Linked DNA regions of Homo sapiens: all the other regions are linked to region 1. Evidence: promoter capture Hi-C in 16 types of primary human blood cells and fetal thymus (Javierre and others, 2016). All regions are on one chromosome and are shown on one strand. The core of a region is centred on a gene start or on the middle of the fragment in contact, and the rest is flanking DNA. Distances in the headings are between cores, read along the strand shown. Region 1 holds the start of EXOC7 (exocyst complex component 7). Region 2 overlaps FBF1 (Fas binding factor 1). Region 3 overlaps UBALD2 (UBA like domain containing 2). Region 4 overlaps LOC105371896 (a long non-coding RNA gene). Region 5 overlaps ACOX1 (acyl-CoA oxidase 1).

Evidence for each region. The method cuts DNA at HindIII sites, captures the fragments that hold promoters and counts their contacts. A CHiCAGO score of 5 or more calls a contact.
Region 2: a fragment that was not itself captured here is called in contact with the fragment with the promoter of EXOC7 in region 1 in 1 of 17 cell types (endothelial precursors); the score reaches 5.6 in endothelial precursors.
Region 3: a fragment that was not itself captured here is called in contact with the fragment with the promoter of EXOC7 in region 1 in 14 of 17 cell types (M1 macrophages, endothelial precursors, megakaryocytes and 11 more); the score reaches 11.8 in M1 macrophages.
Region 4: a contact is called between a fragment that was not itself captured here and the fragment with the promoter of EXOC7 in region 1, in 5 of 17 cell types (endothelial precursors, M1 macrophages, total CD8 T cells and 2 more). The highest score is 7.7, in endothelial precursors.
Region 5: a fragment that was not itself captured here is called in contact with the fragment with the promoter of EXOC7 in region 1 in 1 of 17 cell types (M1 macrophages); the score reaches 5.0 in M1 macrophages.

The regions. Positions count from the first base shown.
Region 1 is chr17:76,102,346-76,105,172 of GRCh38, forward strand. EXOC7 (exocyst complex component 7) reads right to left here and starts at 1,442. Exons shown (of 19, transcript NM_001013839.4): 1 at 1,288-1,442; 2 at 1,016-1,081. The coding sequence starts at 1,347. The HindIII fragment of the contact is 3,319 bases long and covers 1-2,213 here.
Region 2 is chr17:75,927,782-75,930,608 of GRCh38, forward strand. It overlaps FBF1 (Fas binding factor 1), which reads right to left. Exons shown (of 30, transcript NM_001319193.2): 7 at 2,216-2,266; 8 at 295-412. Among named protein-coding and RNA genes, the nearest start is that of FBF1, 12 kb to the right of the region's middle. The HindIII fragment of the contact is 1,427 bases long and covers 715-2,141 here.
Region 3 is chr17:76,269,699-76,272,525 of GRCh38, forward strand. UBALD2 (UBA like domain containing 2) reads left to right here. Exons shown (of 3, transcript NM_182565.4): 3 at 496-1,600. The coding sequence ends at 807. Among named protein-coding and RNA genes, the nearest start is that of UBALD2, 5.8 kb to the left of the region's middle. RefSeq lists enhancers at 363-552, 1,433-1,652, 2,240-2,764, 2,593-2,642, 2,765-2,827 and a silencer at 2,343-2,442. The HindIII fragment of the contact is 5,749 bases long and covers 1-2,827 here.
Region 4 is chr17:76,253,068-76,255,894 of GRCh38, forward strand. LOC105371896 (a long non-coding RNA gene) reads right to left here. Exons shown (of 6, transcript XR_007065913.1): 4 at 2,564-2,701; 5 at 845-1,025. Among named protein-coding and RNA genes, the nearest start is that of UBALD2, 11 kb to the right of the region's middle. The HindIII fragment of the contact is 4,799 bases long and covers 1-2,827 here.
Region 5 is chr17:75,944,998-75,947,824 of GRCh38, forward strand. It overlaps ACOX1 (acyl-CoA oxidase 1), which reads right to left. Exons shown (of 14, transcript NM_004035.7): 14 at 1-1,798. The coding sequence ends at 1,751. Among named protein-coding and RNA genes, the nearest start is that of FBF1, 5.4 kb to the left of the region's middle. The HindIII fragment of the contact is 183 bases long and covers 1,342-1,524 here.

The sequences.
Region 1 (2,827 bases), core at 192-2,691:
GGGAGGTTAGCTTGAGACTAGGAGTTCAAGACAAGCCTGGACAACACAGTGAGACCCTGTCTACACACACAGACACACACACACACACACACACACACACACACACACACAATTAGCAAGGCGTGGTGGTGTGTGCCTACAGTCCCAGCTGCTAGGAGGCCGAGGCAGGAGGACTGCCTGAGCCCAGGAGTTAGAGACTGCAGTGAGCTACAGTCATGCCACTGCACTCTAGCCTGCACAACACAGCCAGACTCTGCCTCTAAAAAAAAAAATTTAAAAATTAAAATTTTTAGAAAAGGACTAGGACTTTATTATTGTGTGACTAAATGCAAATACAAGTTTGTATTTACTCACTTTGTGCTTTTCCAGTCTCCCCTAGGAATAAAGAAGGAAACTCACTTATTGAGCACCTATTGTATACCAGGCACTGTGCAAGATGCAGTCGCATGCATTAGCGCATATGACCTTCACAGACACACTGGGAGGCTGGCACAGTCTCTGTTTTAGCAGATGAATTCGCTGACACCAGTTACCTATCAGGAGCCGCACATTTAAGCAGAAGGGCAAGGACTAGATCCCAGATCTGCCTGACTTTAGAGCTCTTTCTTTCCCTAAAGTCCTCTGGAGTGAAGGCTGAGTCTTCTCTGCCCTCAGGAATCTCAAAGTGCCAACCTCCTGGGCAGAGAGTCCACTGACAATGACATATGCCCAGTACCTAGCCCAACTGGTCAGACTCACTGAGTGTTTGCAGAAGGAGAGAAGGAAGAATGGCGAGCTTAGACAGAAAGCAGCAAGTCCAGGCCAGTGGGAAGTGCAGCCTCCTCAGTGAGGGTACGGAACATGGGGAGGGGGCTAGGCAGGAGAGATGCCAAACTGTTGCTAGATAAACCCACACACTGCCTCCGTCGCTGCCCATTCCAGAACTCCAGGCCGCAGGAACCGGAACCGCCAGGTCGCAAGGCTCTCCCCCAGGGTCCGGAGGCCTGCCCTCTCCCCCAGCTGCGGGGAGACTCACCATGTTCTTAGTGAGCTGGTCGCTCTTCTCCAGGCTGTCTCGGATGAAGGACAGAGTCTCCTCCTCCTGGGGGCAGGCAAGGGGAGGACATCACCAGAAACCAGAAGCTAAAGGAGACCACTGCGTCCCAACCCCACGGCCTAGCCCCCAACCCCATCTCCTCGCTGGGTGCGCTCCCTCCCACCCCTGCCTCCTCCATGAGTAGACAATCAGGCCCCGCTGTTGGCCCCTTTCCCTCACCTCCTCCCCAGCCTCCCCAGGCCCACGCCCACCTGCTTCAGCTTGTCCTCAATCTCCCGCCGTCGAGCGGATGCCTCCTGTGGGGGAATCATCGCTCTGAACCCCGCGGCTCCCACTCCCCAGTATCTTTCCTCCGCGGGCCCACCGGGCCCCCGTCCCCGTCACACCCACTTCCGCTCTTGGTCCCGCCCCGGGACGCCTGGGCGGAGCCATGTTGGGAATCGCAGGCTGAAGTGCGCCTGCGCGGAGCCCAAGAACGGACCGACGGCCATTTTGAGCGTGGCTGGGAAGAGAAGTGTATTCGGATGCTGCAAGGGACCTCGACGCGGGTTCCTTGCCTCAGCAGAGGTTTTCGATCGGCCTTATGTCCCGCGGCTGGCAGGACACTTAGAGCTCACTTGCTGTTTTCGTTGAAAGACCGACCCTTTTGATAAAGACTGCTGGGGAAGGCGACGAATTCCTTTCCCCAGGTCGCATTCTATGGGCAGGCACCAAGGCCAATTGCGTTTCCCACAAAGCCCCGCACGGAGCAGGTGACACAGTAGATGCCTAACGTGTGTCCATGTAATGAACCAGGGGCTTGTGTACTTGTTTCCGCCTTCCACCCTGCATTACGCAAAAACGTATCCTGTGGGCTGGCGGGGCTGCTCCGGAGCTCCAGGCCCAGACCCAGCGTCCAACTGCAGCTCCAGGGGACGGGGTGGGGGGCGCCCCTGGATCAACTTCCCTGCGGGGCTGGATGTTGTGGTTGCAGACCCAGCTCCTGCAAAACCTCGAGTTACTCCTTCCTCTAACCCGTCCCTGCCCACCCTGCCTCTGGCCCCCAGCCTTGAGAAAGGACAAGGCCGACCAGCTTGGTTCAGTCCTTCTGTGGCCTCAGTGTCCAGACACCCGGAAGATAGACAAGGAGGCATGTGCTGGTAGATGAGAAGGTTTGGGGCGGGCAGGGGGGACACCAAGCTTTTTTTTTCCTTTCTTTTCTTTTGAGAGAGAGTCTCACTCTGTCGCCCAGGCTGGAGTGCAAGTGGCACGATCTTGGCTCATTGCAGTCTCTGCCTCCCGGGTTCAAGTGATTCTCGTGCCTCAGCGTCCCGAGTAGCTGGGATTACAGGCGGCTGCCAACACGCCCGGCTAATTTTTTTGTATTATTAGTAGAGACAGGGTTTCGCCATGTTGCCCAGGCTAGTCTCGAACTCCTGACCTCAAGTGATCCACCCGCCTTGGCCTTCCAAAGTCCTGAGATTACAGGCGTGAGCCCCTGCTCCCGGCCTAAGGAGAGAAGGAGAGAAGGAAGAACCCAAGCTCTAGGGTTCCCAAGCGCTCACTCCACCCATAGTCACCCGAAGAGGAGGAGGAGGAGGAAGTGGGTGCACAGAGCCTGGAGAGGGATGGGCAGCCTTCCCTCAGGCAAGAGGACAATTTCAATCCTGTTGTAGGTGGGGGAGATAAAAGGCTGATTCCTGTGTCAGGAAATACCCAGGATGATTTCGCTGACATGGTCCTTGTGTAGTCCAAAGGGCTAAGTAGGAGAAAGTTTAAACTGTTAGATGTCACAGAATAGAGTAGCGGGGC
Region 2 (2,827 bases), core at 178-2,677, 170 kb before region 1:
AGGCTGCCATAGAGTTCTCCATTTTAACTCACACAGCTTCTCCAGGAGCTGCCCATGTTGGACCCAGAGGGCCTGGAACAGCTCGAGGAAGGGAGGAAACTCAAGCTGTCCCCTTACCCCACCACACACACTCAAACACACACACGCACAAATGCTCCTTGGCCTCTCCATCCTGTGCAGAGAAAACCCAAGGACATGAACGCTTCCTACTAGCATCTTCCACGTCCTCAAAGTCTCCCTAGCAGATGCGAGGAGCCGTCTCCCATGCACCTTTCTCACTGGCTACTGACCCACCTGCAGGCTTGGGGTGGTTGGGCAGCTCTCCTTTCCCAGGGTCCTTTGCAGCTTTTTTGCTAGGGGCTGAATTAGATTTCTTCAGACCTAAGATATCAGCATCCATGCCGTCCAGGTCCTAGAAAACCAGGGAGGGAGGGCAGAGGACTATGTCTGATAAGGGGCTGAGGACTTCCACCTGAGAGAGATGGGCTGTTGGCACCCCAGGTGTAGAATTGTGAGAAAACAAAGGAAAATGAGAAAACTGTTGAGAAAAACAGTGAGTGAAGAAAGAAAATGGAACTAAAGGTAAGCAGGGGGAGGTGGAATGGAGTCCAGCTCATGGTTCTGGGATGAGAGACTCAAAGTCAGCACCAAAAATTGAGTCAGAGGACTTGTGGGTTATGCCCAGGGATCCTAGGTGGCTGGTCTCGGGAAAAAAGCTTTCTTTTTTTTCTTTTTTTAGACAGGATATTGGCCGGGCGCGGTGGCTCATGCCTAGAATCCCAGCACTTTGGGCCGAGGCAGGTGGATCACCAGGTCAAGAAATCGAGACCATCCTGGCCAACATGATGAAACCCTGTCTCTACAAAAAATACAAAAATTAGTTGGGTGTGGTGGTGCACGCCTGTAATCCCAGCTACTTGGGAGGCTGAGGTAGGAGAATCGCTTGAACCTGGGAGGTGGAGGTTGCAGTGAGCCGAGATCATGCCACTGCACTCCAGCCTAGGCAACAGAGCAAGACTCCGTCTCAAAAAAATAAAAATAAATTAAAAATAAAATAAAATAAAGACAGAGTCTCACTCTGTCACCCAGGCTGGAGTGAAGTGGTGCGATCATAGCTCATTGCAGCCTCCAACTTCTGAGCTCAAGTGATCCACCTGCCATGGCCTCCCAAAGTGCTGGCATTACAGGAGTAAGCCACCATGCCAGACTTTTTTTTTTTTTTTGAAGACAGAGTCTCACTCTGTCACCACCCAGGCTGTAGTGCAGTGGTGTGATCATAGCTCATTGCAGCCTCCAACTCCTAGGCTCAAGCGAGCCTACTGCCTCGGCCTCCCAAAGTTCTGGGATTACAGGTGCCTGGCCTTTGAGGAGAAAGATTTCAAGATGAGATTAAAGAAGCTGAATCTGGACCGGGTGTGGTGCCTCATGCCTGTAATTACAGTATTTTGGGAGGCCAAGGTAAGAGAATCGCTTAAGGCCAGGAGTTTAAGGTTGCAATGAGATCACACCACTGCACTCCAGCCTGGGTGATAGAATGCGATGGTGTCTCTAAAAAAAAACCCAAAAAACAAAAATACACAACAAAAACAAGAGCCCCACAGGGCTGTAACCAAAAACGCGGCTTTGTCCTAGGGACTGTGGCAAAATGGGTTAACTAAAAGGGACACAAAACCCCAAGGGTCAGACAGGAAGGTGCTGCTGGCTGGAAGGAGAGGGAGAACAAGGTGTCTTAGGCCAAGCTAGAGATTATGTCCTTACAAATTATTCAGAATCTGTGCCTTAAAAATCCATTGCAAAGATTGGCGCTGGGCTTGATCTGATGAGAAGACAGCAGTATTGAAGGGGGCTTGGCAGGGGATGTGGAGAGAAATATGGAGAAAGATTAAGAACAAGCATTAGAGGAAAGAGTCTCCCCCTCTGTCTTCTAGGTGGAGGTGAGGGGACCCAGCTAGGTGGGCCTCCGAGTAGAGCTGGCCCCGTTTCCCCAGAGGCCTGTGGCACTCTCCACTCTCTATATACCAGGAACACTGGTTGATACTCAGAAAGGCAAGGAGGCCAACGGCTCACAGACGAGTTCCATGCTTGCACGAGGAAGGGCTCAGAAACACAGGTTGTAAAGGGAGAAATTAGAAGGAGAATGAAGCTTTGGTACAAAATATCATGACCCCACCCCACCCACCCCCAGTTCTAAGAATCGTGCAAGCTGTTTCCTTACCTTCATGGCCTGGAGCAGAGCCTGTGGGTCTGCCTCTGAGATACCTGAAACCTAAGTCCACAATGAGGGTGAGGACACAGATGAGGAGGCACATTAGTCAAGGCCCAATAAAACTCAGGGTCCTGGCCCCTTGCTTCTGTTAGGGCAGACGGCGCGGCAGGAGCAGAGCTTGGCCAATGGAGCTTACACAGGAGGGTGGCTTTGTTCCCCTTGCTTGGGCTTGGCAGTTGTTTGAAGCCAAACCTGCCTGGTTTTAGAGACTCAGAGAGCACTGCCATTCCTACTCCTTCCAACCATAGAGAACTCTTCCATCCAGGACTGAAATTCTGCTACTTCCCACCCATGCCAATGGACAGCTATGGAGTTTATAAGGGGAAAGGAGCAACATCTAAGACTCTAGCAGTTTCAGGGAGCTCTCCTTTCCACTCATCTTACTACAGGAAAGAGGATTCTGCTTTGGGTCCACTCGGCAGCCCTTGGGCATTATTTACAGTGGCTCACGCCTGTAATCCCAGCACTTTGGGAGGCCGAGGCGGGTAGATCACTTGAGGTCAGGAGTTTGAGGCCAGCCTGGCCAATGTGGTGAAACCCCGTCTCTACTAAAAATACAAA
Region 3 (2,827 bases), core at 223-2,722, 170 kb after region 1:
GTGTGGTGTGAACCCATCCACCAAGGTGGCTTAACTTTTCCAGGGTTGGCACAGGAGGGAGAGCCTCCCCGCTGGCCGCTCTCCCTTGCCTAGCAGCCTGGGAGCATCTGAGGGTGGCTGGTGGGGCAGTCAGCTGGTCTCCCTGCCCAGGGAAGGTGCGGAACAGTGGTGTCCTGGGCTGCCCCCTTGCCCTTTCACTTTAATCTGACACCTTAGCTCCTGGGTGCAATTAACCATTTACTTTGAATGCTCCTCGGGGTGTCATTTCCAGGCCTCATGAAACCCCGTTGGTTTTGATAAGGTTCTTGGGTTTTGTCCTTGTTTTCTGTTTGTATTGCCTCGGGGAGAGGGCACTTTTGTCCTGTGGAAGCTGCTTGTGCGAAAATGAATGAAGCTGAAAAATGGGAGTAAAGGAGCGGCTGGCCTGGGTAAGCCCCATCCAGTGGCTCGGGGACCCCCGAGGCAGCCTCCCCACACCCGTGTTCTCTCCCGCAGATGTGCACTCCCAGCAACACCCCTGCCACGCCGCCCAACTTCCCCGATGCGCTGGCCATGTTCTCCAAGCTCCGCGCCTCCGAGGGCCTGCAGAGCAGCAACAGCCCCATGACAGCCGCAGCCTGCTCCCCACCTGCAAACTTCAGCCCCTTCTGGGCCTCGTCCCCGCCCAGCCACCAGGCGCCCTGGATCCCGCCCTCCTCCCCCACCACCTTCCACCACCTCCACCGCCCACAGCCCACGTGGCCCCCAGGAGCACAGCAGGGGGGCGCCCAGCAGAAAGCCATGGCGGCCATGGACGGCCAGAGATGAGACTGGACGCCGCCGGGCGCTGGGCTGGAGCTGGGGGCAGCCCAGGGTTGTGGGGACACAGGAGGGCCAGGGAGGGGGGAGCCGGGGAGGGCAGGGGGTTTCCCGAAGATCGCACTGGAAGATTTTATAAAAGAATTTTTGTGGGTCGGGGGGACAGTAAACTTCCTGGGCCACGTGGGTCCTTCAGGAGTTTTTCAGGCAAGTTTTTCCTCTGTTTTTAATATATAACTATAATATATATGAATAGATAAATATAACTAATGTGCGTGAGAATGGGCCTGGCACACCTGGGGTGCTCGGGGGTAGGGCTGCCATGCTGCAGAGCTGATGGAGTGATGTTGTGGGCACAAGGCATCTGTCAGCTGCCTCCTTTAACAGCCATGCCTTCTGGAATCTGGAAGAGGACACCACTCCTGCAGTCACTGGGCAGCCACATAGCAGCTGCAGGTCCCAGGAGGGCCTGAGGTCAAAGCTGTGGAAGGCCCTCTTGGTATCAGGGCTCTCTCCCCATGGCCTCTTCCCCACCTCTGATTGCTGGTTGTGGCCCCATAGCTCATCACCCCTGTCTCCTGCTGAATGTGCAGGGCTGATGTGGCACTGAGGAGCTGACTTTGGTCAAAGGCCAGGCTCTGCCCAGCAGGGGACTTGACTGCCCTGGGCGCCCTGCCCCTCCCGCTGCGTGTCCAGGTCCAAAGTGGAGAGCCTGCCTTTGGGTTTAGTTCCCGAATCAGAATCCCATCTCACCAGGGCGAAATTTTAATTTAAAAACTTAAAAAGAGACTTTTCTAACTTCCCTGGTTTGCGGTGCTTTTATTTCCGTTGGTGGGAAAAGCGGTCTCCTCAGAAGAGGGGTGGTGGGGGTCCCTTGCCACTGGGCTGGTCTGGATGTTTTTGCTGTGGGATGGTCACACCAGGGGCTCTGACAGCAAGGTCCAGGTTGGTGTGGGGAGGAGAGAGGGGCCGGGGTCCGTCCTGAGTTTCTGTGACCTTCCCTTCTTGGCCCCATCGGTGTAGCCCCCACCCACAGAGCCCTAGTGAGAAGAGCTGGAAGCCATTTTCATCTACAGTGGGGAGAGCTTCCTTCTAGCTGGGGGCCTCCTGATGGCCCCCCCAGGCCCTCCCAGGAAGCATCTTCCAGCTGGGCTCATCTCCGATACTCCTCTCCTCAGCTTCCCGGGGGCAGTATGTCCCTTTGGGTCATGGCCTGTGGAGTGGCCATGACCCAAAGTTCAATTAAGGCTGGCGGGTCCCCAGAGGGGCCTGCTTCCATTCCCCCTTCCCCGCAGCCCTGCAGGCGTCAGCATGGGGCGAGGTTACCAGTTCCTGACCCAGCAGCTCGTCCTCAGGTGGTCCTGCTGCTCGGGAGGTCAGCTGCGTGGGGAGCCTGTCCACCTGGCTGATGGGGGTGATGGCCGCGTGGCTGGGATTCCTCCTCCAGCCCTGCCCTTCACCGCCATACAGTCTGGGCAGCCCCTTCCTGTCCCGTCCTCCTGCCTCGCCCTCTGCTGGGGTCTACGGGGCCCAAGTCTTGCTGGAACACAGGCAGGACAAGGGTTCTGGAGGTTCAGGCCGGAAGTGAAATAAAAGTCGAGAGGGGCCGGGCCCGGCACCCACCGCATCCTGCCTCCGGGCCTCCTCGGGCCCCTCACACGGTGGGGCAGCCCCTCCTCCAGTGGAGCGGAACGGTGGGCCCCGCTGCCCCTCCACCCCTGCGTGTGACACGGACGTGCTTGGAAGCTGGGTTCGTCCTTTCAGTTTTGTTTCCTGGTTGGAAACCCCTGAGACTCCTCCCCCTCCCCCCGCCCCTGCCCACCTGTGCTTTCCCAGGCTGGAAGGGGCAGCCCCTCTCAGCACGTGGGTGGTTAGGCTGTGACGTCCCCAGGCCTCCTGGGCCTGCACCGGGGTCCACCCAGGTGTGGGCCATGCCCAGGTGCGGGAATGGTCGGGGGTTGCCCTGGCCGGCTTAGGGAATGTCGCTCTGGGACCTTCTGTGGGCGTGGGGAAGGCCTGGGTGAGGAGG
Region 4 (2,827 bases), core at 167-2,666, 150 kb after region 1:
ATGATCCGCCCACCTCGGCCTCCCAAAGTGCTGAGATTACAGGCGTGAGCCACCGCGCCCAGCCGGACTCTGGGATTTAAAGATAACCAAGTGAAAATAGGTTCATCCTCTTTGACTCACAGCCTGGCTGCCTGTGGAGGCAATGAGGAGCTGACATTCACCTGACCCCCGTCCTCTACTTTCGGGTATGCAGAGGCTCTCTTTTGCTGCCCGCGTCAAGTTAGAAGAGGCCACATGATTCTTCGGGACAGTGAACCATGAACAAAGGTGTACTGCAGTCATGTGTTGCTTAAAGACCCGTATACGCTCCGAGAAATGCGTCATTAGGCGATTCTGTCGTCGTGTGAACATTCTAGAGTGTACTCACACACACCTAAATGGGCTAGCCTACCACACACCTAGGCCATGTGGCATAGCCATTGCTCCCAGGCTACAAACCTATCCAGCATGTTACTATACTAAATACTGTAGGGAATTGTAGCACAGTGGTGAAGTATTTGTCCATCTAAACATAGAAAAGCACTTTGGGAGGCCAAGGCGGGCAGATGACTTGAGGTCAGGAATTTGAGACCAGCCTGGCTAACATGGTGAAACCCTATCTCTACTAAAAATACAAAAATTAGCCAGGCATGGTGGCAGGTGCCTGTAATCCCAGCTACTCAAGAGGCTGAGGCAGGAGAATCGCTTGAACCCGGGAGGCGGAGGTTGCAGTGAGCCGAGATCAGGCCATTGCACTCTAGCCTGAGGGACAGAATAAGACTCCGTCTCAAAAAAAATAAAAAATAAATAAATAAACATAGAAAAGATACAGTAGAAATACAGCATTCTAATTGAGTGGGCCCACCTTCACAGACGCAACCCATCATTGACAGAAAGGTCGTTATGCAGCGTGTGCTGTGCTCCCAGGCTAAGCGTTTCATTGCCGATGCTCAGCTCTTCAGTCCTCTCATTGTCTGCTGGCATGTTCCATATGGTGCAAAGTGCCAGAGAGGACATCGTTATGGCTTATGGCTTGTATATTGCAGCTACTCAAATAAAAAAAATTATTAATTTGGGAGATAAACTGGGAGATCAAGGTTCCAAAGGAGGAGAGGTTCGCCCCAGGGTCACATACAAGGGGAGCAGTGGAGAAACTGCATGGGCTGTGAAGGGGGCTGTATTGAGGATTTCACCAGTGGCTGGGAAACGGTGAGCTAGGAGACGTCGACGTCTTCAGAGGAGGATCAGGACTTGGGGGAATTTGTGGGTTCCCTGGCAGCCTCACAGTGGTTGTCAGACCCTTCCCTCTTTGGAATGTGCCATCACAAGGCATTACATGCAATAGGTGTAATGACGGTGCACTAGCAGGCACACAGTAGGGAGACTGACCTAATGCACAGTAGGTAGACATTAGTGCATTAACACACACACATAGTAGGACTGACTGTCAGCATACTAGCAGGCACACACAATAGCTGGCAGGCCTTGACCACGGACAGAGTATTTTTCTCTACACTGTGGAAGAATATCTGAGGTCCTCTTGAGAAGCGTGAACTACATTCAGCTAATTTTTTATATTTCGTAGAAATGGGTTCTTGCTTTTTTGCCCAGGCTGGTCTTGAACTCCTGGGCTCAAGCGATCCACCCGCCCACTCGCCTCAGCCTCCCACAGTGCTGGGACTATGGGTGTGAGCCACCGTGCCCAGCTCTGCATTTTATTTTTTGAGAAAAAACAATCATACACCCAAAGTGTGTTTATAATTTACATGCACAATTAAAAAAAAAAAGACAGAGGCCAGGTACGGTGGCTCACACCTGTAATCTCAGCACTTTGGCAGGCTGAGGCAGGTGGACCACCTGAGGTCTGGAGTTCGAGACCAGCCTGATCAACATGGTGAAACACTGTCCCTACTAAAAATACAAAAATTAGTTGGGCACAGTGGCTAATGCCTGTAATCCCAGCTACTTGGGAGGCAGAGGCAGGAGAATCACGTGAACCCGGGAGGTGGAGATTGTAGTGAGCCGAGATTGCACCATTGCACTCCAGCATGGGCAACAACAGCTAAACTCCGTCTCAGAAAAAAACAAAACAAAACAGGATCTCGCTCTGTCACCCAAGTTGGAGTGCTGTGGAGATCTCGGCTCACTGCAGCCTCGTGCCTCTCAGGTTCAAGCAATTCTCATGCCTCAGCCTCCCGAGTAGCTGGAATTACAGGCGCATGCCACCACACCTAATTTTTGTATTTTTAGTAGAGACGGGGTTTTGCCATGTTGGCTAAGCTGGAATATACACAATTTAAAGAATAATAAACAATCACCTGTGTCCCCGACACAGAATTTAAGAAGTCCAAGACCTTTGAAGACTCTTGAATGACCTCTCCCAGATGCATATCCTCCTTTCTTCACCAGAGACTCAGTATCCTCCAATTTGCATTAATCGGTCCCTTGCTTTTCATTGTCATTTAATCCTATACATGTGTATCCCTGAGCAATGCATTGTGGGTTGGCACATTGATTCCACTGCATATGTGACCCAGTCCCTCTCCCTAACTTCTGGTGGGTGAGCTCAGTGGAGTTCTCTTACCAAGGTAGATTCCTCCAAGCAAGGGCTGGCCCTTTTTCCGTTTTCTGTGACCTCAGACAGCGACTCTGACCCAAACGAGCAACCACAGGTCATAAGGAGATAATCCAAGAAGGCTCCTTAGAGCAGGGAAAATTGAACCTGGGAAGGATTTGGATAAACAGGAAGGGGAAGAAAGGGAATTTTTGGAAGAGAGAACAGTGCAAACCAAAGCAAGTTCATAGCCACACACATTCAGGGCATCTGTTGGGAGCCTGTGGGGGTGCT
Region 5 (2,827 bases), core at 183-2,682, 160 kb before region 1:
GGCCTCCCAAAGTGCTTGGATTACAGGCGTGAGCCACCACGCCTGGCCCCAGATTTAGATTTTAAATAAAACGTGAGGTACTGGGTCAAAGGGGGCTCTGCAGGTCGATGATCTCCTCAAACCTGCAAAGACATCCCATCTATGCAACTGGATTGGGGGGTGTCATTCCAAACACCCTCAGATCCTGCCCAGATATTCATCTGTGAACAAGGTATTTCAACACTAATTTTGAAACAATTCTACATCTAGCAGGTCAGTTTATCATTTTCCAGAATCTGAACTACTGTCAGGATAGACTCAAGTGAGATTAACACAGGGTTAATCTTCAATCTTAACACAATTATCAATTAGTTCTCCCAGTGGAACGATTAAGGCTTTTGTCAACATGTAGCATTTCTGCTGTAACCTATAAGTCTCATATTACCAGTTCCCCAGGATAGATAGATATTATGTCAGGTCCCAAGATAGGAGTTATGTTTCCATGGAATTAAGCCATATTCTCAGGACTGATTCTAGAACAGCTGGTTTCATGAGGCATATGGCGTAGATTAAAAAAAAACAAAACAAAGTGACTTACATTGACTTTAAGAAAAAATTAATTAAGATGTATTTAACCTTTAAGTATAGAATGATTGTATAAATTAGATTTCAACTGAAAGGACAATTAGCGATTCAGAGAAAGCTCCTAGAAATAGACTGAAAACAAAGCCATACATAGAGTAAGAAATAGAACCTATGGAACTTCCATTTTTCTAACTATAGTTTTTTGTTTTTGTTTTTTCCCAGTTGTTAAAAAAAAAACAACTCACAGTTTCAATATTTTCTGAACCAAAAATCAGAACACATGGTTTGTGTCAAAGGGTTTTTCTGTGCTACGTCTGGGAGTGCTGACCTAAGTGACATTTTTTTTTAATGCCAAATACAGTAATCTCCAAGCTTTTAATGGCTTATGCCAAGATGACAGAATATGTGAAATCTGATTGTCCCAGAGTTACACTCTGCACTCCAAAGCTACAACAGTGCCACAGCTGAGAGGTTTCCCTATACTTCCTACTACTGTGACAATTTAGCAATCCTTCAAATGGAAAATTCCTAATTACACGAGACAATGGTCCTACAGTAGGCCCGTGCGGAATAAGTTCCCTCGTTGGAAAAATGCTAGCATGAATAGTTTGATAAATGCAATCCATCAGCAAAGGAGAGCAAGCAGGCAGAGACTGTGCCAAGCAGAAACTCATTCGCATCAAGTTTTCCAATAAGTTTCCTTCCCCCAGTCCCTTTTCTTCAATCCTGCTTTTAAGCCAGGCCCCAGGGTAAGTCTGGTAGAACACTGAGCAGGAAAGCTTGGAAGGGTTCTACACCACTTCAAAAATACCTTTGCTTAAAAACACTTATATAGCCAGTGATTAGCAATTAAAATGTGAAAATAATCAACTACTCAGTAGTTAAATTCTGCTAATTATCAAAAGTCATAGTCTACTGGGATCAGCAGCATTACAAAAGGAAGTCATATCGCATTTCTTAAGCTTTTTCTGAATGGTTTAACAGGTCTCTTTCAGTGTTAATTGCACTTAAAACATCTGCTTTTTTTCATTTAATCTCTGAAATCTGTTCATTTTTTCCCTCCATTTATAAAAAGGGGTCAATTTATCATTTGCTCTATAGCTATTTGAATTCGAAAAAGATTCCACAAAATTTGAGTTGCACACAGGCGCTTTCTGAAGCAGATTAAACTTGTCCTTGTGACACTTCAGAGCTTGGACTGCAGTGACTTCAGGTGCTTGTAAGATTCGTGGACCTGTGGGGAAAGGAGAGAGAAGAACTACTAATAAAGAGTTTGCCATGTTAAATAGTATACTGTTTTTTGTTTTTGTTTTTGTTTTTTTTTTGAGACTGAGTCCTGCTCTGTTGCTCAGGCTGGAGTGCAGTGGCACAATCTTGGCTCACTACAGCCTCTGCCTCCCAGACTCCAGCGATCTTCCCACCTTAGCCTCCCGAGTTGCTAGAACTACAGGTGTGTGCCATGACACCTGGCTGCTATTTGTATTTTTTTGTAGAGATGGGGGTTTACCATGTTGGCCAGGCTGGTCTAGAACTCCTCAATTCAAGTGATCCACCCACCTCAGCCTCCCAAAGTGCTAGGATTACAGGCGTGAGCCACTGTGCCCAGCCTGTGGTTGTTTCTGAAGAGTCCTTATCTTTTAGAGCTATGCATTGAATTATTTATGGATAAAATTATCTGATGTCTTAGTTTTTTTTTTTTTTTTGAAACGGAGCCTCGCTCTTGTTGCCCAGGCTGGAGTGCAATGGCATGGTCTCGGCTCACCGCAACCTCCGCCTCCCAGGCTCAAGCAATTCTCCTGTCTCAGCCTCCCAAGTAGCTGGGATTACAGGCATGCGCCACCACGCCTGGCTAATTTTGTATTTTTAGTAGAAACAAGGTTTCTCCATGTTGGTCAGGCTGGTCTCAAACTCCCGACCTCAGGTGATCCACCTGCCTCGGCCTCCCAGGTGTGCATCACTGAGCCTGGCCCTGATGTCTTAGATTTATTTCAAAATAGTCCCCAGGAGGAGGGGGATGAAGGTTCAGATGAAACACAACTAGCCACGAGTTGATAGTCATTGCTGCTAGACAAAGGGTGTACCAAAGAGCACTACGGAATTCTCTTTTTGTATATTTTATTCTATTTGTGTGTGTGTGTGTGTGTGTATACTTTTTTTTTTTTTTTGAGACAGAGTTTTGCTCTTGTCACCCAGGCTGGAGTGCAATGGCACGAACGTGGCTCACTGCAACCTCCGCCTCCTGGGTTCTCCTGGGTTCAAGCTG